6 separate regions of the Homo sapiens genome follow, and regions 1, 2, 3, 4 and 5 are each linked to region 6. The links are contacts of gene promoters, found by promoter capture Hi-C in blood cells and fetal thymus (Javierre and others, 2016). All regions are on one chromosome and are shown on one strand. The core of a region is centred on a gene start or on the middle of the fragment in contact, and the rest is flanking DNA. Distances in the headings are between cores, read along the strand shown.

Region 1 (4,374 bases), core at 1-2,500, 420 kb after region 6:
TCTTGGTTGTCAATTTTTAGAAGTTACTCCAGACCTCTCAACAAAAAAATTTGGTGAACCTTTCAATGATCATATATTTAATATGTGATTCCACTTAGTTGTCACATTTGTGGAGTTTTTGTTTTTGTTTTTGTTTTTTACCTATAGCCCTTGATATGTTATGAAATCACAATTAAGAATAAACTATAGGCAACTTTTCTATTTCATGAGTGCCTACTATGTGTTAGGCACTATACTGTGTGCTTTCCATATGTTGTTTTAAATGAGATAACAAACTCTGGGGATAGTTACTATTATTTCCACTTTCCAGATAACTGAGGTACAGAAGGGACAGTTAATTGGCCCAAAGTCACACAGCTACTAATTGTAAATGCTGGAGCTGGGGTTCAGACCAAGGACTTCCTCCAAAATTTGTGCTTAGGCTCTTTTTTTTTTTTTTTTTTAATTTCCCATTAATTAAAGATGATTCTGGCCAGGCGCGGTGGCTCACGCTTGTAATTCCAGCACTTTCAGAGGCCGAGGTGGGCAGATCACCTGAGGTCGGGAGTTTGAGACCAGCCTGGCCAACATGGTGAAACCCCATCTCTACTAAAAATACAAAAATTAACTGGGCATGGTGGCTTATGCTTGTAATCCCAGCTACTTGAGAGGCTGAGGCAGGAGAATTGCTTGAACCTGGGAGGTGGAGGTTGCAGTGAGCTGAGATCGCACCACTGCACTCCAGCTTGGGCAACAGAGCAAGACTTGGTCTCAAAACAAAAAGGAAAAGAAAAATTCCTTGAATTCGTCAAGTTCTTTCCTGTGTCACATTGTCTTCCATGTTTCCTTTATCAGAAATGCAGGCCCCTTATTTCTGATGGCTCCTACTCCAAGTTTTCACATTATGTGGGCCCCATGCATATGTCCTCTAAGCTTGTCTCATCTTTTAGCTTTCTGCTTCAATGTCACTTCCTCATAGAGCCCTTCTCAGATCTTCCAGGCAGAATCAGCCATTCTCTCTGATGCTTCCTTGTTCTTTTTTTTCATAGTGCTTAGCATACTTTATAAGTATATACTTACGTGTTTAAGTTTTGTCTCCTATACTAGACTGTAGGCTCCACAAGAGTACAGGGATTGTGTCTCTTCTGTTCATCATTACATATCCAGTGCTTAGCATAGGATATGCCCTGGGTAATTACTGAGTGGTTGAAAGAATTCTGAAGCTGCCCAGGTGTGGTAGCTCATGCCTGTAATCCCAGCACTTTGGGAGGCTGCGGTGGGAGGCTTGCTTGAGCTCAGGAGTTTAAGACCAGCCTGGGCAACATGGTAGTGAGACCCTGTCTCTCTTTAAAAAAAAAAAAGAAAAAAATTAAAGTTAATTTTGTGGCTTCTCTTTCTCATGAACAATTTATACAACAAATTTTCAGAAAACAACTTGTGTTAGGGTGATGAGATTGTGTTCTTGAATATTTTTACGTTTTGGCATTAAACATTTTCACAGTTTTGACCATCTCCTGTATCCAGTCAGTGTGCTAAGAGTGGTCAAACTGACACTTCCCTGTGTGTGTTTAGGTTGGATCCCAGAGACCGTGGAGGAATGGAAGCTTCTCCTTCATCTCATACAGAGCAAGAGCACGAGGCCAGCCCCCCAGGAGTCACTAAATGGGAGCCTCAGTGATGGGCCTTCCCCCATCAATGTGGAGAATGTGGCACTTCTGTTAGCTAAGGCCATGGGCCCAGATCGGGCTTGGTCACTGCTACAGGAATGTGGTCTGGCCCTTGAGTTGTCAGAGAAGTTTACCAGAACCTGCGATATCCTGAGGATTGCTGAGAAAAGGCAGAGGTAATATCAGTTTGTCCTACCCTCTGCATAGTGCTTGGAGAAGGTAGAAGGCCACAGACTTTCAGATGTAGATGTGGAGATCATTTAGTCCCGACCCATCACTAACATGAGGAGACTGAGACTGATGTGGTAATTAAGGGAAGAGGCTAAAGTAATATTTCATTCACAGCCATGACCAAGATGCTGTTCAGATTAACCTGAATAATCTGATGTGTCCTTGATTCTTTAAAAATATTACTGGTACCAGGCTGGTCGTGGTGGTTCACGCCTGTAATCCTTGCACTTTGTGAGGCCGAGGTGGGCGGATCATGAGGTCAAGAGATTGAGACCATCCTGGCAACATGGTGAAACCCCATCTCTACTAAAAAAAAAAAGTACAAAAATTAGCTGGGTGTGGTGGCACGTGCCTGTAGTCCCAGCTACTTGGGAGGCTGAGGCAGGAGAATCGCTTGAACTCGGAAGGTGGAGGTTGCAGTGAGCCAAGAACATGACACTGTACTCTAGCCTGGTGACAGAGCGAGACTCCATCTCAAAAACAAAAAAATTACTGGTACCTGGCTGGGTACGGTGGCTTATGCCTGTAATCCCAGTACTTGGGGAGGCTGAGGCAGGTGGATAACCTGAGGTCAGGAGTTCGAGACCAGCCTAACCAATATGGTGAAACCCTGTCTCTACTAAAAAAAAAAAAAAAAAATGCAAAAAAATTAACTGGACATGGTGGCAGACACTTGTAATTCCCAGCTACTCGGGAAGCTGAGGCAGGAGAATCGCTTGAACTCAGCAGGCAGAGATTGCAGTGAGCCAAGATCACGCCATTGCACTCCACCCTGGGCAACAAGAGCAAAACTCTGAAAAAAAAAAAAAAAATTACTGGTACCAGATACCTAATGTCTCAGTAATTTTTTTTTGTGGTATAATACACATAAAATTTATCATCTTAACAATTTAAAAATATTCAGCTCAGTGGTATTAAGTTATTCATATTGTTTTGCATCCAGTCTCTAGAACTTTTTCATTTTGCAAAACTGAAACTCCACACCCATTAAACAGCAACTTACTTCCTCTACCTAGCCCCTGGCAACCACAGTTCTACTTTCTGTTTTTATTAATTTTACTATTCTACATACCTCATCTCAGTGGAATTAATACATTTGTCGTTTTGTGACCAGCCTGTTTTCACTGAGCATAGCATCCTAAAGGTTTATCCATGTTGTAGCATGTGTCAGGATTTCCTTTCTACTTAAGGCTGAATAATATTCCGTTGTATATATATGCCACCTTTTGTTTATCCATTCATCTGTTGACAGACACTTGAATTGCTTCCACTTTCTGGCTATTGTGAATAACGCTGCTATGAATATGAGTATACAAATATGTCTTCCAGACACTGCTTTCAGTTCTTTCGGGTATATACCTGAAAGTGGAATTCTGGAATCATATGGTAATTCTATTTTTAATTTTTTGAGGAACCACCATACTGTTCTGTAGAGACTGCACCATTTTACTTTCCTGCCAGCAGTGCACAAGAGTTCCAATTTCTCCATGTGCTAGCCCCACACTTGTCATTTTCTGTTGTTGTTTTTTGTTAAACAGTAGCTATCCCAGTGGGTGTCAGGTACTATATATCTCATTGTGGTTTTGATTTGCATTTTTCTAATGATTAGAGATGTTGAGCATTTTTTCATATGCTTATTGACCATTTATATAATTGTCTTTGGAGAAATAGCTATTCAAGTCCTTTGCCCATGTTGAATCAGGTTGGGTGTTTTCGTTGTTGTTGCTGTAAGAGTTCTCTGATATTCTGGATATTAACCTCTTATCAGATACATGATTTGCAAATATTTTCTTCCATTCTGTAGGTTGCCTTTTCACTCTGTGCATTGTGTCTTTTAATGCACAGAATCAGTCAACTTTTTGAATCCTCTGAAACTCTGTAGTTTTTAAGTTTTCTGTGAAGAATGAACAATGACAACTAAATTTGCTTGTTTCTTTTCTTTGGGATTTCAGGGCCTTGATACAAAGCATGCTTGAAAAATGCGATCGGTTTCTCTGGTCCCAGCAGGCCTAGTGGGAGAAGATTCAGCAGGATGTCATGACATTTTGAGAAAAACTAAATCATGCTCCTGAACCTTCTGAACGCATTTGTTATTGAAGGAAAGACACCACCCCCAAATCCTGCCATCTTATTGGGGCTACTTTTGTCAGTGTCTGTACCCTTGGCATCGGCATCTGTGACTCTTTATCCATGACCTCAGTGTTTCTTAACCAAAGTTGTACTCAGCATTTCTTAACCAAAGTTGAATTTTGAAAAGAGTCAGTCCTTGTTTGCTGGAATTAGAATGTTAATGTCCTAGTATTATTCCGAACTACAGTATTAACTGCTTGTTGCTAGTGGATTAGACAGATTCTTTTCTTACTGTGGCTTCCATGTTGGGAGCAGAAGCTTTTCATCCTGGTCACATGAAGACAGATGGTATTATTGACTGGAGTTGAATTATTTTTATATCTTGTCTGGCACAATATGGAAATTACTGAAATAAGACGGTGTATAA
Region 2 (4,157 bases), core at 164-2,663, 330 kb after region 6:
GATCCTGTCTCAACCACTAAACAATATTCACATAATCAAAATGTAAACACTATTAATTATCGAAAAACTGTGAAATAACTATATCAGGAGCCTGGAGTCGAGGGGAAAGGAGTAATGGTATTATAAGAACACTAAATCTTCAACTACCATAATAGAAAGTCAGTAGAAAATAACAAAATTAATAAGAATGGTATACTGTCAGCTAAAAGAGTGGAAAGTAATTGATTCAGTGAAGAGAGAATAAAGGGTAGGGGGCAGTGAGTGGGATAGTGGACGTGGTATTTTGAAATGTGCCTTCTAGTGCTTTTCACTTTTTAAATTATGAGCACATAAAATGTTGCTAAAAAAAACAAAATTAATTTTTGAAAAGTCTAAAGCCAAGAGAAAAAAACACAGTAATGGCCCTTTGAATTCTTTTGAGGGCCTAGTGCATAATGGATGCTTAGCGGTACCAACAGCAGAATTCAAGCCTCCCTAGTGACTTCAGATCCAGTAATCCATCTCCTTCACTGCACTTTTGGAGAATAAAGCAGTCTCAGCCTCAGAGCCATCTGTGCTTGTCAGTGTGAGGCCTGATAGAAATAAAATAGCTCTCCTGCTCCCAATTATTTATATCAGGTAGAAGAAAAATTTCCAGCCTGCAAGATCAGGTTAGGGAGAGAGTGAGGAGGTTAGCGAGAGAGTGAGGAGGGTAGGGAGAGAGAGGTCAGTAGATGCACAGAATTTGCATTCAAGAGCTGAATTTGAATCTTAGCTCTCCAATCCCGAGTTGGATGCAGGGGCTTTTCATCTCTCCAAGCCTGTTTATTCTTAAGTAAGCTTCACGAGGGCATTTTGCCCATCATCTAGGACAGTGATTTGTTTATTTGTCACCCAGGCTGGAGTGCAGTGGTGCGATCACAGCTCACTGCAACCTCCGCCTCCTGGATTCAAGCTATTCTCGTGCCTCAGCCTCCCGAGTAGCTGGGATTACATGTGTGCACCACCACGCCCAGCTTATTTTTGTATTTTTAGTAGAGACAGGGTTTTGCCATGTTGGCCAGGCTGGTCTCAAACTCCTGACCTCAAGTGATCCACCTGCCTTGGCCTCCCAAAGTGCTGGAATTACAGGCATGAGCCACTGTGCCTGGCCAGGACAATGCTTTTTAATAACCAGAGGCTTTCTATTTTTACTTTTGACACAGGGTCTCTGTTGTCCACCTTACAGTGCATGATCATGGCTCACTGCAGCCTCAACTTCCCGGGTCAAGTGATCCTACCACCTCAGCCTCTGGAGAAGCTGGGACTACAGGCATGTGCCACCACACCTGGCTAATTTTTATTTTTTGTAGAGACAGGGGTCTCCCCATATTGCCCAGGTTGGTCTCGAACTCCTGGTTTCAAGTGATCCGTATGCCTTGGCCTCCCAAAGAGCTGGGATTACAGGCATAAAGCCACCACACCTGACCAATAAATTGAGACTTTTATTTATTTATTTATTTGTTTATTTATTTTTGAGATGGAGTCTCACTCTGTTGCCCAGGCTGGACTGCAGTGGTGTGATCTCGGTTCACTGCAATGTCTGCCTCCTGGGTTCAAGCAATTCTCCTGCGTCAGCCTCCTGAGTAGCTAGGATTACAGGCATGAGCCATCATGCCCAGCTAATTTTTGTATTTTTAGTAGAGATGGGGTTTCACCATGTTGGCCAGGCTGGTCCTGAACTCCTGACCTCAGGTGATCCGCCTGCCTTGGCCTCCCAAAGTGCTGATTACAGGTGTGAGCCATTGTACCCAGTCAATTTGAGACTTTATAAGTAGAAGGCTGTATACTGATGCACAGTAGCTTAATAATTATTGAATGAATCTTGAGGATGAAATAAGAATGGTCATATAGCATGGCAAATATTTGGCAAACAGATCTAATAGATAGTAGATAGTAGTAAACTAACTAATAAGAGTTTCTTTCCCTTGATCTCTACCTCAGCTTTTTACCAATGTTGTTATATGGCAGCCTAAGTCAATAAGCTTTTTTTTTCCCCTCGCTCTGTCACCCAGGCTGGAGTGCAGTGGCGCAATCTCGGCTCACTGCAAGCTCCACCTCCTGGGTTCACGCCATTCTCCTGCCTCAGCCTCCCGAGTAGCTGGGACTACAGGCGCCCGCCACCATGCCCTGCTAATTTTTTTTTTTAGTAGAGACGGGGTTTCACTGTGTAAGCCAGGATGGTCTCGGTCTCCTGACCTCGTGATCCGCCAGCCTCAGCCTCCCAAAGTGCTGGGATTACAGGCGTGAGCCACTGCGCCTGGCCCTAAGTCAATAAGCTTTGAACTGAAGCCTGGTAATGGTAAGTAATAATAATAGAGTCATGAGCCTCATAATGTTTTGGTCAACAATGGACTGCATATACAAGGGTGGTCCTGTAAGGTTATAATACTGTACCATACTTTTACTGTATCTTTCCTATGTTTAGATACACAAATACTCTTGTGTTACTATTTCTTCACACTATTCTGTATAGTAACATGCTGTACAGGTTTATAGCTTCAAATCAATAGGCTGTACCACATAGCCTCTATGTTTTGTAGGCTATACCATCCAGGAGGTATAGCCTACAACATGTTGGGAGGCCGAGGCGGGAGGAATAAGTATAAGTACAGTCTGTGATGTTCATACAGTAATGAACTCATCTAACGATCCATTTATCAGAACATATCCTCATTGTTAAGTGATATATGACTGTAATAGTAATAAATGATAGAAAGAACATTTATTCTCAGAAAAAAAAAGAAAGAACATTTATTGAACGGTCATTTTGAGCCAGGCACTATTCTATATTAGCTCATTTAACCTTCACGGTAAATCTGTAAGTACTACTATTATGCTCATGTTACAAATTAAGAAACTAAAGTCGGGTCGGGGGGTGGTGGTGGCGGGGGGAAAGAAAGAGACAGAGAAAGAAAGAGGGTGCAGTGGCTCCTGCCTGTAATCCCAGCACTTTGAGAGGCCGAGGCACGCAGATTGCTTGAGCCCAGGAGTCCAAGACTAGTCTGGGCAACATGGCAAGAACTTGTCTCTACAAAAAATACAAAAATTAGCCAGGCATGGTGGCATGTGCCTGTAGTCCTAGCTACTCCAGAGGCTGAGGTGGGAGGATTGCTTGAGTCCGGGAGGTGGAGGCTGCAGTGCTGTGATTGTGCCACTGCACTCCAACCTGGGCCACAGAGTGAGACCTAGTCTCTTAAAAAAAAAAAAAAAAAAAAAAAAGAAGAAAGAAAGAGAAAGAAAAACTGAAGCATGGAGAGATAAGTAATCACACAGCTAGCCAGCTAGTAAATGACAGGGCTGGAATTTGAACCCAGGCAGCTTACCTTACATCTTGAGTGCTTCATCATATAAGTTAGACTTCTCTTAATTTATTCATCTGACAAAGAAAATGGATCGCTGTTGTATTTTTTAAGGAAATTCCTTCTTATCTAAGTTATAATTGTGATATGTAACTGTTACAATGCCAAACCACCATATTTAGGACATGCTAACTGAAACCTGTTAGTGACTTTGTTTTGAAGATAAACCCTTCGCACCTATTGAATCAAGTTTTAAGGTTGCTCTCCTGCTAACTCAGCATACTCTAAATGGCTTTTTCTTTTAACTCAAGTTTGATCCCAACTTCTATTTAAAGAAAAAATTTTAAGCCGGGTGCAGTGGCTTGTACCTGTAATCCCAGCACTTTGAGAGGCTGAGGAGGGAGGACTGCTTGAGCCCAGGAGTTCAAGGTCAGCCTGGTCAACATAGTGAGACCCCATCTCTATGAAAAAAATTCAAAAAATTAACCAGTCATGGTGGTGCGAGCTTGTAGTCCTAGCTACTTGAGAGGCTGAGCTGGGAGGATCACTTGAGCCCAGGAGTTGGAGGCTGCAGTGAGCTATGATCATGTGGCTGCACTACAGCCTGGGTGACAGTCTGAGACCCTGTCTCAAAAAGAAAAAAAAAAAGAGCTCAAAATTTGGAGAATGCAGGTCACCACAAAAAAGTGTCTACTAATCAATCTAGTAAAGATGATCTAAGAAAATCAAATACGTACAGGTTTTGTGGGGAAAATGAAGGCACAGAAGAAAGCACTTTTACTTTTCTTTGAGGGAATTTTCCTCCATTTAGGTTTCTAAGGTTAAACAATAAAAACA
Region 3 (3,969 bases), core at 964-3,463, 400 kb after region 6:
AGTATGATCATACAGCTGGATCCTCCCAGTCTTTGTCTTTCCCCAAACTCTTACATCTTAGGTAAGTTTCTACTTTCCTTAGTTCTGGGGGGGAAAAAGAATACTTAGATTTTTATCTCTGTTTCTTGTTCAGAAGTAGTTTTTTAAGGTTATTTTTGCACTAAATTACTTATAGAAAGTTAGGAAATAATTATGTTACATGAAGTGTTCTGTATCTAAAAGGAATGGAAAGATCCTAGAAATACACTTCTCTTTCCAAGCCAATTGGAGAGTTTATAATTGCCAAGAAACTTCTAACAATTGGAGCTAAGATAGCTCTACTAACCGCCTCATAACCTCTCCTACCTAATGGGATGCTATAATGAAAGCAAGTCCCAGATCAAAATCTGCCACACAGATGTATGTGTTTTTAGCAAGCAGGCACAAAAATAGTTGTAGAACTTGTTCTTGTAAGCTTGGTGAAATTTCAGCTCTCTATCCTATAGGTACTCTGACAAATGCTTGCATGAAAGATCTGCTGGAGGCAGTTTCAGCCATATTCTAATGTCAGAGTTCAGCCAGCCTTCTAGTTGGATTAGGTGCAAAGTCCAGCACAAAGTGCTGCCCTAAAAGTTGTTAAACTGCTGGACCTGCCAATTCTTACACCTTGTTCTGCAAGAGCAAGAGTACCAGTGTATGATTTCCAGCCAATATCTTGAACTCTATTTCATCAATAAAAAATTACTTCTGATATCCCTTAGGCTAGTTAACAAGATCTCTGATGCAAATTCAGCAAATATTGTATGAAGTTGTCATATGGTACACTGGAGTGTGAACACCTGATTCAGTTCTTTGAAAGGCTAACTAACCACTCTTTGTGATTTTTAAAAATAATTGAAGTGTTAACTAATTGCCTCTAAGGGTAAGGATAAAAACCAGTTCATGTATTTGTCATACTTCCTACACTGAAGTATTTAAAAGTGAATTATAAGGCCGGGTGTGGCTCATGCCTGTAATCCCAGCAATTTGGGAGACCGAGGCGGACAGATCTTCTGAGGTCGGGAGTTCAAGACTAGCCTATCAACATGGAGAAACCCCGTCTCTACTAAAAATACAAAAATTAGCCAGGCATAGTGGCATGCTCCTGTAATCCCAGCTAGTAGGGAGGCTGAGGCAGGAGAATCGCTTGAACCTGGAAGGTAGAGGTTGCAGTGAGCCGAGATCGTGCCATTGCACTCCAGCCTGGGCCACAGAGCAAGACTCTGTCTCAAAAAAAAAAAAAAAAAAGTGAATTATAGACATTATAACACTTTAGTAACTCCATAATTCTTCATGAAAGTTACTAGAGAAAGACATTTATTTATTTACCCATAATTAGATAAAGCATATTAAAAACTCTTCCTCCTTTAGCATTCTTCCTTTGTGGCACTTGTCACAGTTTATAATTACATATTAATATAATATTTATACATGTCTTACCCTAAACAGTAAGCTCCATGAGGGCTTTATTTCTGTTTTGTTGACTATTATTTTTTCAATGCTTGGCCTAATGCCTGGCACATGATAGATACTTAATAAATATTTGTTGACTATGATGTGATGTGCGGGGTATTGGGAAGTCCCTTACCCAAGTTTTTTTTTTTTTTTTTAGAGACGGAGTCTTGCTCTGTCACCCACATTGGAGTGCAGTGGTGCGATCTTAGCTCACTGCAGCCTCTGCCTCCCAGGTTCTAGCAATTCTCCTGCCTCAGCCTTCCAAGTAGCTGGGACTCACAGGCGCACGCCACCACGCCTGGCTAATTTTTTGTATTTTAGTAGGGATGGGGTTTCACCATGTTGCCCAGGCTGGTCTCGAACTCCTGAGCTCAGGCAATCCACCTGCATCGGCTTCCCAAAGTACCCAAGAATATGTTTTCTAGTAGTCGGGCCACAATACACTTAGCTCTCCTGGTAGAGTTATTCTTTTGGCTGTAGCTATTTAAAGCTGCTGTTATAGTCCCTACCATGGTAGACAAAAAGCCTTTGATGATCTGGCTCTGCCTATTCCTCAGCTAAAGCAACAATTAACGCCACTTTGAAACTTCTGCTGATTCCTCAAAGAGGCTTACGTTAGACAACCTATTTCTGTGCATGTACTGTTGTCAAACCATATTCATTCCTTTATCATTGCCACTGTCTTACTGTATTATGAGTATGCATCCCAGCATCAGATTGTCAACTCCTTTTCATGGGCAGTGCTAGACACATAGAAAACCCTCAAATGATAGTGAATTCAACAAAGAGTTTTTTCGAAAACATGAAGAGGAGGGCTTCTTTTCATTCCTGTTTGTTTATGTTTTTCATTCGTACACTGTGCCCTATGGGACTTTTACTGTTGCAACCCATAAATCCCAGAGGGGGCATCCTTATGTACTTTGTTTCCTTTCAGGCACATTCCTTTCTGGAACTTCTAAAACAATGCTGTTAGGCTTATGTCCCCATTTATTATCAGTGAAGGGATAAGGGGACAAGGAATGTATAAATTACAAGTATCAGCTTTTATCTAAGTTCCCGTCCTCAGCCCCCCATCTAATCTAGGTTGCTATTCCTAAGGAATTTTCCAAGCTGAATGTCAGGTTCAGTATCAAAATTATGATCCTGTATCTCTTTCTCAGGGATCCTCTGACACCCCCCCCCCCCCCGCTTTTTTTCTCCTTTGACTCTTGAAGGCAGCCTTCTCAATTTTACTTTGGATTCAGATTCTGACCATTTCTTGCATTTTATGACAAAGATTACTTTCCTGTAGGGATAGTGATCTGGTCTTTCATATTGACAAAATGTTTAACACTTACATGAGGGCCCAACTCCTGTTAAAAATCAATTAGTTTCATAGCCACATGGAACCATTTTTAGTACTCTTGGAAACATAAAGGAAAAAGAAATATAGTCCCTGTTCTTCAGAGTATAATTTATTAGAGAGATATGATTTATTTGTCCAAAAAGTTTAACAACAATAAGAAGTAAGAGTTGTGACAGTGCAGTAGATGATTAAGTGCCATATGAGCAGAGTATAAGAAATAGGTTGAGTGCAAGAAATAGGGTGAGTGTTGTGGGCTGTAAGGGAGGATTTCAGAGGGAAGTAGAACTTCTGATCCTTGAGAGGTGGCTAGATTAAGAACATTGTAAGTTGGAGAATGTCCTGAACAGCATTAGGAAGTGGAGATTACCAGTGGTATATAAAAAATAGTAGCAGCCTTGAGAGAATAAATGAAATATATGAGATAAATTTATATGAGTAAGTATAGAAAAAGATGAGGAGAAAAAAATGAGTCCTCCAGACCAGAGGACTGGAGAGAAAGAGAACCAAGAAAATGCAGTGTCCAGGAGCCCCAGGAGGTGAGGTTCAAGAAGCAGAGAACAGTTAGCAGGGTTGGCTTCTGCTTGGGGTTAAGAAAATGGGAAGTGATGAAGGGTTATTGGGTTTGGCAGTTTGGGAATCTGTGACTTTTTGAGAATTCAGTTAAGTGGAATAGTTAGGATTCCAGATAATAGTGAGTAGGTTAGTGAAGATAAGTGGAGGAGGAAGTAGATTCTGTGTTATATAGGAAAAAAGTCCAGGTTTTGGAGCCAGACTATCCTGCATATCCAGTATAAATTCTGACTCGTATACATTTCATGCTGAATGGCCTTTGGTATATTATTTTATTTCTCTGAGCCTTAGCTTTTTCTCTTTTTAATAAGAATAGTATATCTACCTTGACTGGCTTCTACAAAGTTAGGTAATATAGACAGAGCCTTTAATAAAGCTCCTGGCACATCGTTGAGCAGGAGTTGTCAGCTTTTTGTTGCGCACACACAACTAACAACATCAAAATATTACTGTTCTTAAAAGTGTCTCACTAGAGTAATGATTGGCAGTAAGATGTTAGTCTTTGTTTTAAATGTGCCCGTATCATGTCCAGTATGGAAAGTTCAGCTGCTTTAACGAACATCAGGTAAAGGTCCCTAAGC
Region 4 (4,089 bases), core at 1,352-3,851, 440 kb after region 6:
CTCTTTTCTTTTCTTTCTTTCAGAATGCTATGAATATAGGCCTCAGGATAACTACTTTTTAAAGGAAATGACAATCTTGTTGGGAAAGAGAAAACAGTAAGTCTTAAAAACACTCCTTGGCATACTCCTCACCTGATCCTCCTCTCCTCCCCTCCCCTCCCCTCCCCTCCCCTCCCCTCTCTCCTCCCCTCTCCCCTCCCCTCTCCCTTCCCCTCCCCTCCCCTCCCCTGCCCTCCCCTCCCCTCCTCTCTTCTCCTCTCCTCTCAAGACAGGGTCTTGCTCTGTTGCCTGAGCTGGAGTGCAGTGGTGCAATCATGGCTCACTGCAGCCTCAGCCTCCCAGGTTTAAGTGATCCTTGCATCTCAACCTCCCAAGTAGCTGGGACTGCAGTTGTTTGCCAATATGTTTGAGTAATTTTTAAAATTTTTAGTACAGTGGGAGTTTCACCATGTTGCCCAGGCTGGTCTCAAATTCCTAACCTGCAGTCCTCCTGCCTTGGCCTCCCAAAGTGCTGAGATTATAGGCATGAGCTACCATGCCCAGCCAGAAGTTCATATCTGATTGCTTCTATTTTTCAGTGAAATAGGAAGCAAAGTTGTCAACTGAGAAGAGAATGAACGAGGAGTTGTGGGAAGTTTCAGAAGAGAAGAGAAGTAGAAAGCAGACATCTAGGAAAGGAAGAATGTGACTGAACTTGAGAAAGGTAGTGGATTGTATGGTAGCTCTTGGTCAACGACCATGAATTTAAAGTGAGACTAGTCATAGCAGTCGTGCTTTTTTTCTGATCACATTCAGCTGCCAAGGTTCAGACTTTTAGCAAGTGGCAAATTGAATATCACTGTGCAATAAATGCTTGTTGAGTTGCATGACTGAATACATGCGAAGGTCAAAGGAGGAGGATTTATTTAAAGATGAGGGAGGGTTACAGGGCACAGGGAGAATGTTAACAGAGAGAGTGACTGAGGGTAAAAGATAGGGCATAACATAGACTTCAACAACCAAGGGGCCACAGGGCCACGGGGACAAGGTTGCCCAGAGTGTAGCAGGAGCAGGTCTTCCTCTGAGACAGGAAGGAGAGGAACGATAACAAGGAAGATGCATTTTGAGATGAAGGACAGAGATCCTGAGGGAAACCAGCAGGCCCTTTTCTTTACCAGTCATAGAACTCATCGCTCTCCACCTGTTTGCATTTCTGAGTTTGACCCAGAGTGCACAAAACACAGGGATAGGAACCTTGTCAGGCTTATTGACAGATAACTGTTGTCACTTTAACACCAAACACAGCACCTCACCTGTAGCAGGTTCTTAGTCACTTTTATTGATTGAAGGAGTCAATGCATGAGTGAAGTAGGAGAAGTCATCTCCTATAGATTGACAGGTGGAAGGTTAAGAAGAATGGAAAAGCTTTGGAACAATGATGTCATTTAGAGATGAACATGGACTTTTTTTTTTTATGTTTGCCTCGCACTAATAACTTTTATTTCACTCAAATTAGAGCAGTAATCTTCCATAAATAAGTATATTCCCTGCCCAATAATTTAAGGAAAAATCCACAATGATTAGTAAAGAAAAATATAAGAATTAACAGACCCTTTAAATTTGTTTTAAATATTTGAAGATTTAAAAAGTGTTTAAAGTTTGTAATTCCTAGTAGGAAAACATTATCTGAATGAATACCCTAATGGCAAACCACTGTAAAATGCTTCAGCTGCATTTGGGGGAGAGGGGTAGGGATTATCTTCAAAGCACCCCAGCTCTCTTGATGAGAAGGTCAGAGGTACGTTGGTTTGTATTATTGCGACATCCATAAGGTGATCTAGGTTGCTTTTCCTTCAGCAGGGCTTTATTTATCAGAAGGGCATTATGCTTGACCTCCAAATTTGGCTGACAATTTACTGATGAGATTCATAACCTTTGGGTTGCTCTGGTATTTTGACATATTTGCTGGGTTCTGAGCCACATCCTGGAAGGCCACCATAACTTCTGGATCCTGCATGGCTGCAAGAGCCTCTGGATCACTAAGAATTTCATTGAGTCCAGGCATTCCGGCCATTCCAGGCATGTCCCCTCCCATTCCAGGCATTCCTCCGGGAAAATTACCAGGCATTCCACCAGGAAAGCCACCTGGAAAAGGGCCATAGTGAGCTCCTGACTGTCGTCTGGCTTCTTCCTCCCTCTGGGCTCTCTCCTGCTCTTCTTGAGCCTTCTTAACTCGTTCTATTCTTTCTTTGATCTCTCGCTCTTCATGTTTTCGCTCATACTTTCTCCAATGTTCTGCAATTTTCTGTGCCCTAGGTTGAACTTCTTTCAGCATTGCACTAGCATCTTCATCATAATCCAATTTACAGGCAAAGGCAAGATCATGGGCTGCTTCTTCCCAGTGGCCTAGAAGTCTGTGTGCTTTCCCCCGCCACTTGTAAGGCTGAGCTGAATCAGGATTTATTTCAATGGCTCTGTCACAGTCTTGGATGGCAGCATTTGGCTTCTGTAATTTGACGAAGACACTGGCCCTCTTTGCATACAAAATGGCCAAGCGAGGATTCAGCTTGATGGCATCTGTGAATAAGTCAATGGCTTTCTGGAGTTCACCATCATTTAGGACTTCAATAGCAGCCACTTTTTTATCATTTGCCTGATCCATCATCTCCTCCGTTATCTCCACATTTTCATCTCCCATTTCTTGAGGAGCATCAGTGTCTGGTTCAATCACACCTTCTTTATCAATTTCTAGATCACTTTCCTCAGTTGATGGTTCGTCTGCCTTTAAGTCTTCCTCCACCTTCTTACTATCAGGTTTTTCTTCCTTGGTATTTTCTTCTGATTTAGCCTTCTGAGTAGCAGGTGGTACTTTACCTCCCATGCTCTCCACCCACTCTCTCAGGAAGCGCATTTCCTCGGTGTGCAGAACGCTCGGATCCTGCTTACACATTTTCACAAAGGCCCGAAGCTCGTTCACTTTGCAGGGGTCCATGGTAGGGAGGTGGTGGGTGAAGCTGGGGGCTGCGGCCCAGTTCCAGGCCCAGGTGCTGGCTCGGCATGACCGCGCAGAAGGGGGCGGCTGCCGCGAGTGAACATGGACATTGTTAATATGCAATAAAATCTCAGCCTACTTGAAATGTTTACATTAATTGTCAAAAAACATATTCAGAAGGCAAACCCTTATCATCTCTCCGCTGCTCCCAGAGAGATGTTATTAGGCATCACCTTCTGGGTTATGATGGCTTCTTAACTGGCTTCCACATTTCCCCCTTTGCCGCCAACTAGTCTCTTTTCAGTATAGCAGCCAGACTGTTACAACACAAGACAACTTCTATCACTCTCCATTCAAAACTCTCCGGAGGATTCCACTTCCACTCATAGTTGAAGTCAAAGCCCTTATAATGGTTTTCAAACTTTACTCAAACTGTCCTAACTCCTTCCTCTCGTACCTCATCATCCAATTCTCTCCTCCTGCTCATTTTGCTCTGGCCACACTGGTCTCCAAACCCCCAGGCACATCTTACCCTAGGGGCCTCGGATTAGCTGTTCCTTTCCTCTGGAACATTCTTTTCCCAGATATTTGCATATCAGGGCTTTGAGGGGGCCTTGATCCGGGAATGCAGGATACTGGAAGGTTCAACAATACAGTTATTGTCAATAAGAGTATTGGCAGTGAATGTGTTGGAAAGAGGGCCGTAAATGAACTGTGAAAATTTTCCATGAAGATGGGAGAGGACTGGAGAGTTTTGTCAATGAATACAATAAAGAGGTACTTTGTCTCCAAACATCACTAAGCAGATTGTCTACACAGAAGCTTCTAGTGGGTATTTCTAGGCTGGGCACGGTGGCTCACACCTGTAATCCCAACACTTTTGGGGGCGGAGGCGGAGGATGGGTTAAGGTCAGGAGTTTGAGACCAGCCCGAGCAACATAGTGAGACTCCATTTCTACAAAAAATTAACAATTAGCTGGGCATGGTGGCACACTCCTGTTGTCCTCACTACTTGGGAGGCTGAGGCAGGAAGATCACTTGAGCCCAGGAGTTTGAGGTTACAATGAGCTATGATTCCACCATTGCACTCTAGCCTGGCAACAGAGCGAGACTCTTGT
Region 5 (4,333 bases), core at 1,418-3,917, 460 kb after region 6:
GGAGACCTGGCTATGAGGCCCTCGGGGCAGGGATACAAAGTTAGTGAGGTCTATGTCCAGAGAAGCTGAGATATGGCATATAATAGGCATCTAATAAATGCTTAAGAGGTGGAATTTGTTGAAACAGTGTGTTCTTCTTTTGGTGCTGACTGCCTGTTTGGTACAAAAGGGAAATCAATGCACACCCACATGAAGGGTGAGCCTAGGTAGGCCTATGTGTTTGGATGTGAGGAGACATTCTTAGTAGTCACAGTGCAGACACCTGCATCAACCCTTCCACAAATTAGACCTCCTTTTTTCCAGACCTTTGTGGTTACATTGTTGCTATTTCCAGTCCCTTCCTTGCCCAGGCTTCTCATCTCCTGTGAATTATTTCCTGTTACCTTCTCTGTCCCTCAGTTCTTCATTCCTCAGTGATCTCTGTTTCTGGAGGCAGGGGCTACAGACAATTGAATTGTGAAGTCCTGCCTCAGCGACTGCCACCCGAGTCTTCCTTTCATTTCTCAGCAACACCTACAAATCCAGGCATTAATGAATTTCTACCCACTCCATCTAAAAAATACCTCCAATGCAGTTCTCTTCCACTCTATTTTCATTGCCTTCTTTCAAGTCTAAATATGTAATGCGACTCCTTTTATGAATGTTTTCTGAGTTTCTGGAGCTTAACTAGATCAAAGTTGTGGAAGTGGTGGCAGTGGAGAGAGAGCCAGATAGAGAAGAACTGTTTTATCAGTCAGGGTCCCTTTGGGAGACAGAAACCAGGCAGTAATTTGAAAAGGGAAATTTTAATATAAAGAATTATTAACTGAGAGCAGCATTAACTTCTAAGAGTACAGAATATGAGAAGGTATAAATTTGAGATTGGGCCCCTCACAAGACTGACATTGGATGGCAAATAGTTTACTGGGTCCTTCAAGCCAAAACTGACATATAAGAACTCCATTGAGGTATTAATGAAACTTGGCAGGAAGCTACCCAGGGTGTAACTTAACTCTGGGAATGCAGCTAGGGTTCCTGTGACAAATTTGGGAAACTGCTTGGGGGCAGGAGATAGGTTATCAAAACCCCTGGGAAGCCAGCTGTGGAAGTGGCAGTGCTCTGGAGTGAACTGTATCTTGCCAAAATGTATATGTTGAAACCCCAACTCACAGCATGGCTGTACTATTTTGTTACAGCAGCCCAAGCTGATTAAAATAAGTGGGCTGCTGGTAAACATCATGGACATCCTACTGAGGTGCCACAGAAATTGTCAGGAAACTGTCTTGGCCTTGGGATGCCACTCAGATCTCTGGGGCAAGTGCCACTGGTTGTCCTGTACAGGAGAAGAGTACTGCAGGAGCTGAAAGGAAGCAAAGCACAAAAGAACAGGAAAAGATGTCTTCATCTCCTGCTTGGCCCTCTAGCGCCCTCTATGGGTGAAGATTAACATCATGCCCAACTGGCAAAGGAGAAATGTTCACAGGGTCCAGCTCCAGCATCACAAATAGGACAAAGGGGTGGGTGTGGAGCTGAAAATAAAGAAACTGATAACTGGCATACCCCTTTTCTCTGAAAAAGGATTGAGGAGGACTCCTAAGGTGAGAAGACTAGTTATAAAATTATATTTACAGAGTAAAGACAAATTTATTTGTCAAGGAGGAAGAAAATGTATGGATATAAAGTAGAACTATTTACAACAGAACTTTCTCATACAGTTCTCATCAAAAGACACTAATAGAAGTGTAGGTATAGGAGGTATAGGAGGTTTGAGTCTGAGTCTCAAAGATGTGCCAATGCCAAAACAAGGCAAGGGCAAGATAAATAAGATGGAGAGAGGCGTGGAAGATTGGCTCATGGGAGCAGACTCAATGCACTGTTGAGATTAGTGTTCAGTCTAGTAAAGTCTGAGTTGACCCCAAGTTGTAAAAAAAGACTGTAATGCTATTATTACAATAGCAATTGTAAATGCTTACAATTAGATTTCTGTCACAAGTACTGAAGTTGTAGATTTTGGGGGGCAGGAGGGAGAGAAAGGGAGGATGAGAGAAAGAATGGCTTTCAAAGTCAAATAAAGCAAGCTTTCAAAGTCTAGTCTTTGTAGATATTCAAAACTTTGCAATCAACATATTATTACTAGAAATAATTAACTGAAGCAACATTTGGATACAGAAATTCATTCATCCGTCTGTAAAGGACCAAATCACTCCCCTTCTTGAAATCTATAATTTGAAAAAAAATTTAATTCAATATAGTCCATAGGTTCAGAGGAAGAAAAAGTATAAAAAAAACAAGAAAAAAATTTTTAAATCGAAATTTGTATCCAAGGAAAAAGGTGCTTGGTTTACCCAGGAATTTATAATTTGTAAAGTCACACCTAATACCTATGCTCTGGCACACCCAAATACCTTTTATTAATTACTTGGTTTTCCTCAGTAAGAATTAACATGCTTCTCTCTGTTAGAAAAGTTTGAGAAAGGGAAATTGCATTGCTCTTTGTTATAGTTGTGTTTTGTTTTGTTTCGTTATTTGAGACAGCATCTCCCTCTTTCATCCAGGCTGAAGTGCCATGGCATGATCATGGCTCACTGCAACCTCGACCTCCCGGGGCTCAAGAGATCCTCCCACTTCAGCCTCTTGAATAACTGGGACTGCAGATGTGCGCCATGACACTTGCCTAATTTTTATATTTTTTGTAGAGATGGGGTTTCGCCGTGTCACCCAGGCTGGTCTTGAACTCCTGGGCTCAAGTGATCTGCCTGCCTCAGCCTCCCAAAGTGCTGGGATTACAGGCATGAGTCACTGAGCCCAGCCTACTGTTATATTTATTTTTGTGTCGGTTTGAGGCTGCCCAGATTCACATTGTTTCTGGGGTCGTCTGTGAGGGTGTTTCCAGAGGAGATTAACATTTGAATTGGACTTAATAAAGTAGATTGCTATTCTCAATGCAACTGGGCATCACCCAATCTGTTGAAGGCTTGAATAGAACAAAAATAGAGGAAGGACAGATTTGCCTCCCTTTTCCCCTGCCTCACTGCTTGAGTTGGACATCTCCTCTCATCTTCTCTTGCCCTCAAATTGGATTTACGTGATCAGTTGCTCTGGTTCTCAGGCCTTTGAACTCAGACTGAATTACACTTTCCTGAGTTTCTAGCTTGCAGAGGGCAGATCGTGGGACTTCTCAGCCCCAATTATCTTGTGAGCCAATTCCTTACAATAAATAAATACATACATACATACACAAATAAATTATTTGTCCTGTGTCTCTCAAGAACCCTGACTAATAGGGTATCCAAGCTTTTCAGTCTTATCTCCTATGACTAATTAATGTGCCTCATGCTACATGCAAATTGAGCTGCTTGTTATTTTTAAACATGTCATTGAATTAGGAATTATTTCAAACGTTCAGAAATGTGCTTCCATGTGTTCATTCAGCATTTATTATTGTTATTTAAAATATTCATTCATTTATTTATTTATAGATTTAGGGGGTACAAGTACAGATTTGTTACACTGATAGATTGCATAATGGTGAAATCTGGGTTCTTAGTGTAACCATCACCCAAGTAGAGTTCATTGTACCTGTCAGGTAATTTCTCAATCCTCGGCCCCCTTCTGCCCTCCATCTTTCTGAGTCTCCAGTGTCCATTATTCCACTTTCTATGTCCATGTGTACACATTATTTAGCTCCCATTTATAAGTGCGAAAATGTGATATTTGACTTTCTGGGTTATTTCACTTAAGATAATGGCCTCTAGTTCTATCTATGTTGCAGCAAAAGATACGATTTCATTCTTTTTAATGGCTGAATAGTATTCTATGGTGTATATATGTGTATACAGACATACACACACACCCCTCCAATCATTCGTTGATTAACCTAAGACACTTAGGTTAATCCCATATTTTTGCTACTGTGAATAATAGTGTTGTGATAAATACATGCATTCAGGTATATTTTTTATATAATGATCTATTTTCCTTTGGGTAGTACCCAGTAATGGGACTGCTGGGTCAAATGGTAGCTCTATTTTTAGTTCTCTGGGAAATCTCCATACTGCTTTCCACAGAGGCTGTACTAATTGACATTCCCATGAGCAGTGTATAAGCATTCCCTTTTCTCCACATCCTCACCAACATCTGTTGTTTTTTTGACATTTTAGTAATAGCCATTCTGATTGTGTGAGATGGTATCTCATTGTGGTTTTAATTTGTGATTAAATTTGTGTTTAAATTTGTGACTCTGATGATTAGTGATGTTGAGCATTTGTTCATATTTTGTTGGCCATTTGTATGTTTTCTTTTGAAAAATACCTGTTCATGTCCTTTGCCCGCTTTTTAATGGGGTTATTTCCTT
Region 6 (4,013 bases), core at 1,380-3,879:
CATTGCAACAAAGAGTTTAATGGACACAAGGCCAGCCATGCTGTATGGGAGACAGAGTTATTACCCAAATCAATTCCCCGAAAATTCAAAGTCCAGGGAGCCTGCTTCTGACTGGGGCCTCAGGACTTGTGGGGTGGAGGGAGAGCAGGTCCAGGTGGAGCCATCAGTCGTCAGAAATGCAAAAACCTGAAAAGACATCTCAACCACCAATCTTAGGCTCTACAATAGTGATGTTATTTGCAGGAGCAGCTGGGGAGTTGCAAATCTTGTGATCTCTGGAATAATGGCTGGTAATCTTTTATGTCTACACCTTAGCAGAATTCAGGCTCCTCACATCCTCCTAACCTGGTGGCCTTTCATTAGCTTCGCAAAGGTGATTTAGTTTGGGGGAAGACTGTTATCATCTAAGCTATAAACTAAATGTCTCTCCCAACATTAGCTTGGTCTGAAACCAGGAATGATTAAGGGCAGTTTGGAGGGTAAAGGCAAGATGGGGGTTGGTTAGATCAGATCTCGTTCACTGTCATAATTTTCTCGCTGTTATAATTGTTGCAATGGCAATTTCAAAAGGAGGTGTTAGGGTTATAGAAACAAGACACAAGGACTTGCCTTCCAGGGTCTTGCGTACTAGTAGAAGGAGACAGATGAGAAAACAAATAAATGCTTCACAGGGTTGCAGGGCAGCTAGATGTCTGTATGGCCTGTAGTGGGGGCATAAAGGAGGAGAGGTTGGGAAGGCTTTGATGAGGAGGCTTAAAGCAGAGTCTTCTTGAAAGACAGATCCATGCCTCCACCTCTGTCTCCTCCATCTCAGCTGCACCCAAGTTTGACCTCAGTGCCCGGCTGAAGAGTCACATGGTGGTTCGCGCTGGGACAGCCCTCTGCATCCATGCAGCCTTCTCTGTGAGTTGTCCCTGACCCTGACCTCCATACACTGTCCACATAACCAAGATGGCTATTGTAGCCATCACAGTCTCTGACTCTGACTCTGACTCTGCCCCTCACCAGACCCCTAGTGCGACAGCCTGGCAGGAAACTCCTCGACAATGGAGGAAGGCCTGCCCCCAAATATCATCTGTGTGACCAGTTGTGCCATCTCCTGTCACTACTCAGGGCTCACCACCACCTGACGTGATCTGGCAGAAAGATGGCGTTCCCACCAAGGGCCGAGAGACAATTACCAAGAGCAAAAACCACTCCCAGTTCCTCATTAATAGCACCAAGCGCTCTGACTCAGGGGTGTACCGAATCTTGCTTCAGAATGAGTTTGGAGAAGCACGCTATGACATCCATGTGCGCGTGGCAGGTATGGAGAGAAGGCAGAGGCCTCCAAGACCCATCCCTGTACACTCTCCAAAGCACAGCTCCCCAGTGCCGCTTGAGTTCCTACCACAGGAAAGTCATGCCTTAGGGCCATGAAGATTTCTTTGACACCACAGAGCAAGACTTTATCATACAGAGTATGGTCGGCAGAGAGAGTAGAAATGGGTGGAGGGGCAGGAGGGACAAATGGAGATGAATCCATTAAAAATTGGGGTGACTGCTTAAAGAGAGCTGGAAGCTTTAAAATAAAGCTCTAAACCCCCAAGGAAGGAATGGATTCATTTTTACTGAACAGTAACTACATGCCAGTCTCTTTACCCACTATTTCTACGAAATAGTCATTGTCAGCTCTATTTTGCAATTGAGGAAAGAAGTCTCAGATAAGTAACTTACCCCAGGTCACGAGGCTAGTAAATGGCAGAGCAGACTTCAGAAATAGTTTTCCGACTCCAAGACACCAGCTGCCTGAGACTTGCCCCATCTTATCTTCCATCGGACTTGGCAGATGGCTGGGGTGGGGACATAATACTTCAGGTGCCCCAAGGTCGCTGACAGATCTTCCAACTCTTCCAGATTTCCCTCGGCCCCCCACAAACCTACGGTTGTTTGAGGAAGTCCCCAACACAGTGACTCTGACCTGGAACCACAGCCCAGATGTGCAGGAGGACGGTGAGGCTCACTACATCATCATGAAGCGGGATGCAAGCACAGCCACCTGGTACACGGCAGCCGAGCGTGTCTTCAGCAACAAGTACACAGTGACGGGGCTGCTCCCAGGCAGGAAGTACTACTTCAGAGTGGTGGCTCGGAATGAAATCGGTGACAGTGAGCCACTTGACTCCAGGGACACCTGGCTCATCAATAAGGACCAGAGTGAGTCTGGGACTTGCAGTTAGGGTTAAGTCTGGGTGCCCTGATGGTGGGGATGACATAAGGGTCCCAAAGGGTACCCAAGAGGCAAGATAAAATCTGAAAACCATTGAGATAGAACGGTTAATATCTGGGACGCTGCGGAGAGAAGGAAATATTGGCTTTCTTCGGGGTACTTAGGGGTGAGACTAAAGTGGAGGTGGGGAGGTACCTTTGGGGGCAGAGAGGACGGTGGAGGGGCTGCGGAGGGACATAGAGCGCAAACGCGTTCTGCTCTGAGGGGAGGGTCTAACGGGGCTGAGAACAGGGGAGGGCTCTAGGGAGCCGGGAGGATGTCTGGGATCCCTGGAGGCTAGGGGTTAAGGGTGGGGGCCGCGTCGGGAAACTCGAACTGAGGAGCTAAAGGGATAAGAGGGGAGACTGTGGTCGCTGATATGACGTAGGGGAAGCTTGGAGGCGGAGTTAAAGGCTGGGAATAACCGGGTCCAGGAAGCTGGCGCTGGAATGACATCTCGGCCCCAGGGGTGTGGGAAAGCGTGGTTTGGGTGGCAGAACCCTGGAGTGGCTGGGGACGGGGCTGGGGGGTCGGGGGAGGCCTGGGGGCGGGTGGGGAGCCCTTAAGAACCAGTGTAACATTGGGCCCCCAGAGTTGGTGGCGCTGGGAATGTGGCCTAGGTCCTCGGGGTTCCGTGTAAGCTGAACTGTAAGACGTGGGTGGTGGGTGGGGGCCTTGGGGCGCCCTCACGGCCTGCCCCGCCCCGCCCGCGCAGTCCAGGACCTGAGCGCCAAGCTCAAGCCCTACGAGAAGAAGGACTGGCGCCACGCGCCGCGCTTCGTGACGCCCCTCAAGCCACACACGGTGCTCCGCGGCCAGGACTGCACCATGACCTGCGCCTTCCTTGGGAACCCGCGGCCCACAGTGACCCTCTACAAGGGCGACGTCAACATCACGGCCAACTCCAAGTTCTGGTACAACTCCACCAGCGGCGTGTGCACCCTCGTCATCCCCACCTGCACGCTCAAGGACAGCGGCGATTACAGCGTGCTGGTGGAGAACGAGCTGGGCAAGGACCGCAGCAGCTGCACGCTCACCGTCTATGGTGAGGGCGCCGCGGGGTCCGGCCTCGAGGAGGGGGAGAGGCGCAAAAGGCTGGTCTTGTGGGCCATTGGTCAACTATTTGGCTGGCACCGTTTTTTAATCTGACTGCCAACAGGTGGTGCAAACATTCTTAATTGGCCACAGTTCTTACCACTCTCCCATCCTTTCGATGTCATTTGTTATATGCCTGGCCCCTGCAGACATGAGAGTTCTCAATCCCTAGATAAGATGTGGTTTGCAACTCTTGGTGAGCCTAGACCTGCCTTCAGAAAAAAGATACTGGTGATCAGGACTCAACCAGACTCACCAATCACGATCTCTCTGGCACGGTTCTGGAAATAACCTATATGTTTACAAAATTTTGCGGGTGATTCTGATGTGCAATAAAAATTAAAACTGGTCTAGGATAAGGACCGGTGGGGGGCACAAACAAGGGAAGGAGCGAAGGGAACCCTCCCTTTTGTACATGCATGCCATGTTTCTACTCATGTGTGCACACATAGGGGGAAGCATTTTATTCCTTCCCAGTCTACTGTCTTCATAGCCACACAGCTAGCAGCATGAACTCTAAATGCAAAGCTGGCCTGCCTTGCTTTCTGTTGCTTAAATTTCCCCCAGCTTTCCTCTCATGGTAAAATCCCAAACCAAGAAGGTTTCCCCCTCCCCCACCTCTCATCTCACCTTCTGCTACTCCTGAACCTTCCATGACACTCCATTGCTG

Evidence for each region. The method cuts DNA at HindIII sites, captures the fragments that hold promoters and counts their contacts. A CHiCAGO score of 5 or more calls a contact.
Region 1: a fragment that was not itself captured here is called in contact with the fragment with the promoter of IGSF22-AS1 in region 6 in 6 of 17 cell types (total B cells, naive B cells, total CD4 T cells and 3 more); the score reaches 9.5 in total B cells.
Region 2: a contact is called between a fragment that was not itself captured here and the fragment with the promoter of IGSF22-AS1 in region 6, in 1 of 17 cell types (activated CD4 T cells). The highest score is 5.4, in activated CD4 T cells.
Region 3: a contact is called between a fragment that was not itself captured here and the fragment with the promoter of IGSF22-AS1 in region 6, in 5 of 17 cell types (total CD8 T cells, total CD4 T cells, non-activated CD4 T cells and 2 more). The highest score is 7.0, in total CD8 T cells.
Region 4: a contact is called between a fragment that was not itself captured here and the fragment with the promoter of IGSF22-AS1 in region 6, in 1 of 17 cell types (naive B cells). The highest score is 5.5, in naive B cells.
Region 5: a contact is called between a fragment that was not itself captured here and the fragment with the promoter of IGSF22-AS1 in region 6, in 9 of 17 cell types (total B cells, total CD4 T cells, total CD8 T cells and 6 more). The highest score is 8.4, in total B cells.

The regions. Positions count from the first base shown.
Region 1 is chr11:18,279,398-18,283,771 of GRCh38, reverse strand. It overlaps HPS5 (HPS5 biogenesis of lysosomal organelles complex 2 subunit 2), which reads left to right. Exons shown (of 23, transcript NM_181507.2): 22 at 1,552-1,822; 23 at 3,830-4,374. The coding sequence ends at 3,890. Among named protein-coding and RNA genes, the nearest start is that of SAA1, 15 kb to the right of the region's middle. RefSeq lists enhancers at 1,020-1,079, 1,120-1,179. The HindIII fragment of the contact is 671 bases long and covers 915-1,585 here.
Region 2 is chr11:18,371,541-18,375,697 of GRCh38, reverse strand. No RefSeq gene overlaps it. Among named protein-coding and RNA genes, the nearest start is that of MIR3159, 14 kb to the left of the region's middle. The HindIII fragment of the contact is 1,184 bases long and covers 822-2,005 here.
Region 3 is chr11:18,301,514-18,305,482 of GRCh38, reverse strand. It overlaps HPS5 (HPS5 biogenesis of lysosomal organelles complex 2 subunit 2), which reads left to right. Exons shown (of 23, transcript NM_181507.2): 8 at 1-61. Among named protein-coding and RNA genes, the nearest start is that of HPS5, 19 kb to the left of the region's middle. The HindIII fragment of the contact is 3,514 bases long and covers 457-3,969 here.
Region 4 is chr11:18,260,864-18,264,952 of GRCh38, reverse strand. It overlaps the pseudogene ST13P5. Among named protein-coding and RNA genes, the nearest start is that of SAA1, 3.4 kb to the left of the region's middle. The HindIII fragment of the contact is 2,389 bases long and covers 1,407-3,795 here.
Region 5 is chr11:18,241,021-18,245,353 of GRCh38, reverse strand. All of the region lies in intron 3 of SAA2-SAA4 (SAA2-SAA4 readthrough), which reads left to right. SAA2 (serum amyloid A2) reads left to right here. Exons shown (of 4, transcript NM_030754.5): 4 at 1-114. Among named protein-coding and RNA genes, the nearest start is that of SAA2, 5.5 kb to the left of the region's middle. RefSeq lists enhancers at 1,098-1,147, 1,278-1,572 and a silencer at 1,258-1,552. The HindIII fragment of the contact is 1,216 bases long and covers 2,060-3,275 here.
Region 6 is chr11:18,705,097-18,709,109 of GRCh38, reverse strand. IGSF22-AS1 (IGSF22 antisense RNA 1) reads right to left here and starts at 2,629. Exons shown (of 3, transcript NR_186353.1): 1 at 1,961-2,629; 2 at 1,717-1,832. It overlaps IGSF22 (immunoglobulin superfamily member 22), which reads left to right. Exons shown (of 23, transcript NM_173588.4): 19 at 815-903; 20 at 1,114-1,306; 21 at 1,897-2,196; 22 at 2,964-3,293. The HindIII fragment of the contact is 1,081 bases long and covers 1,564-2,644 here.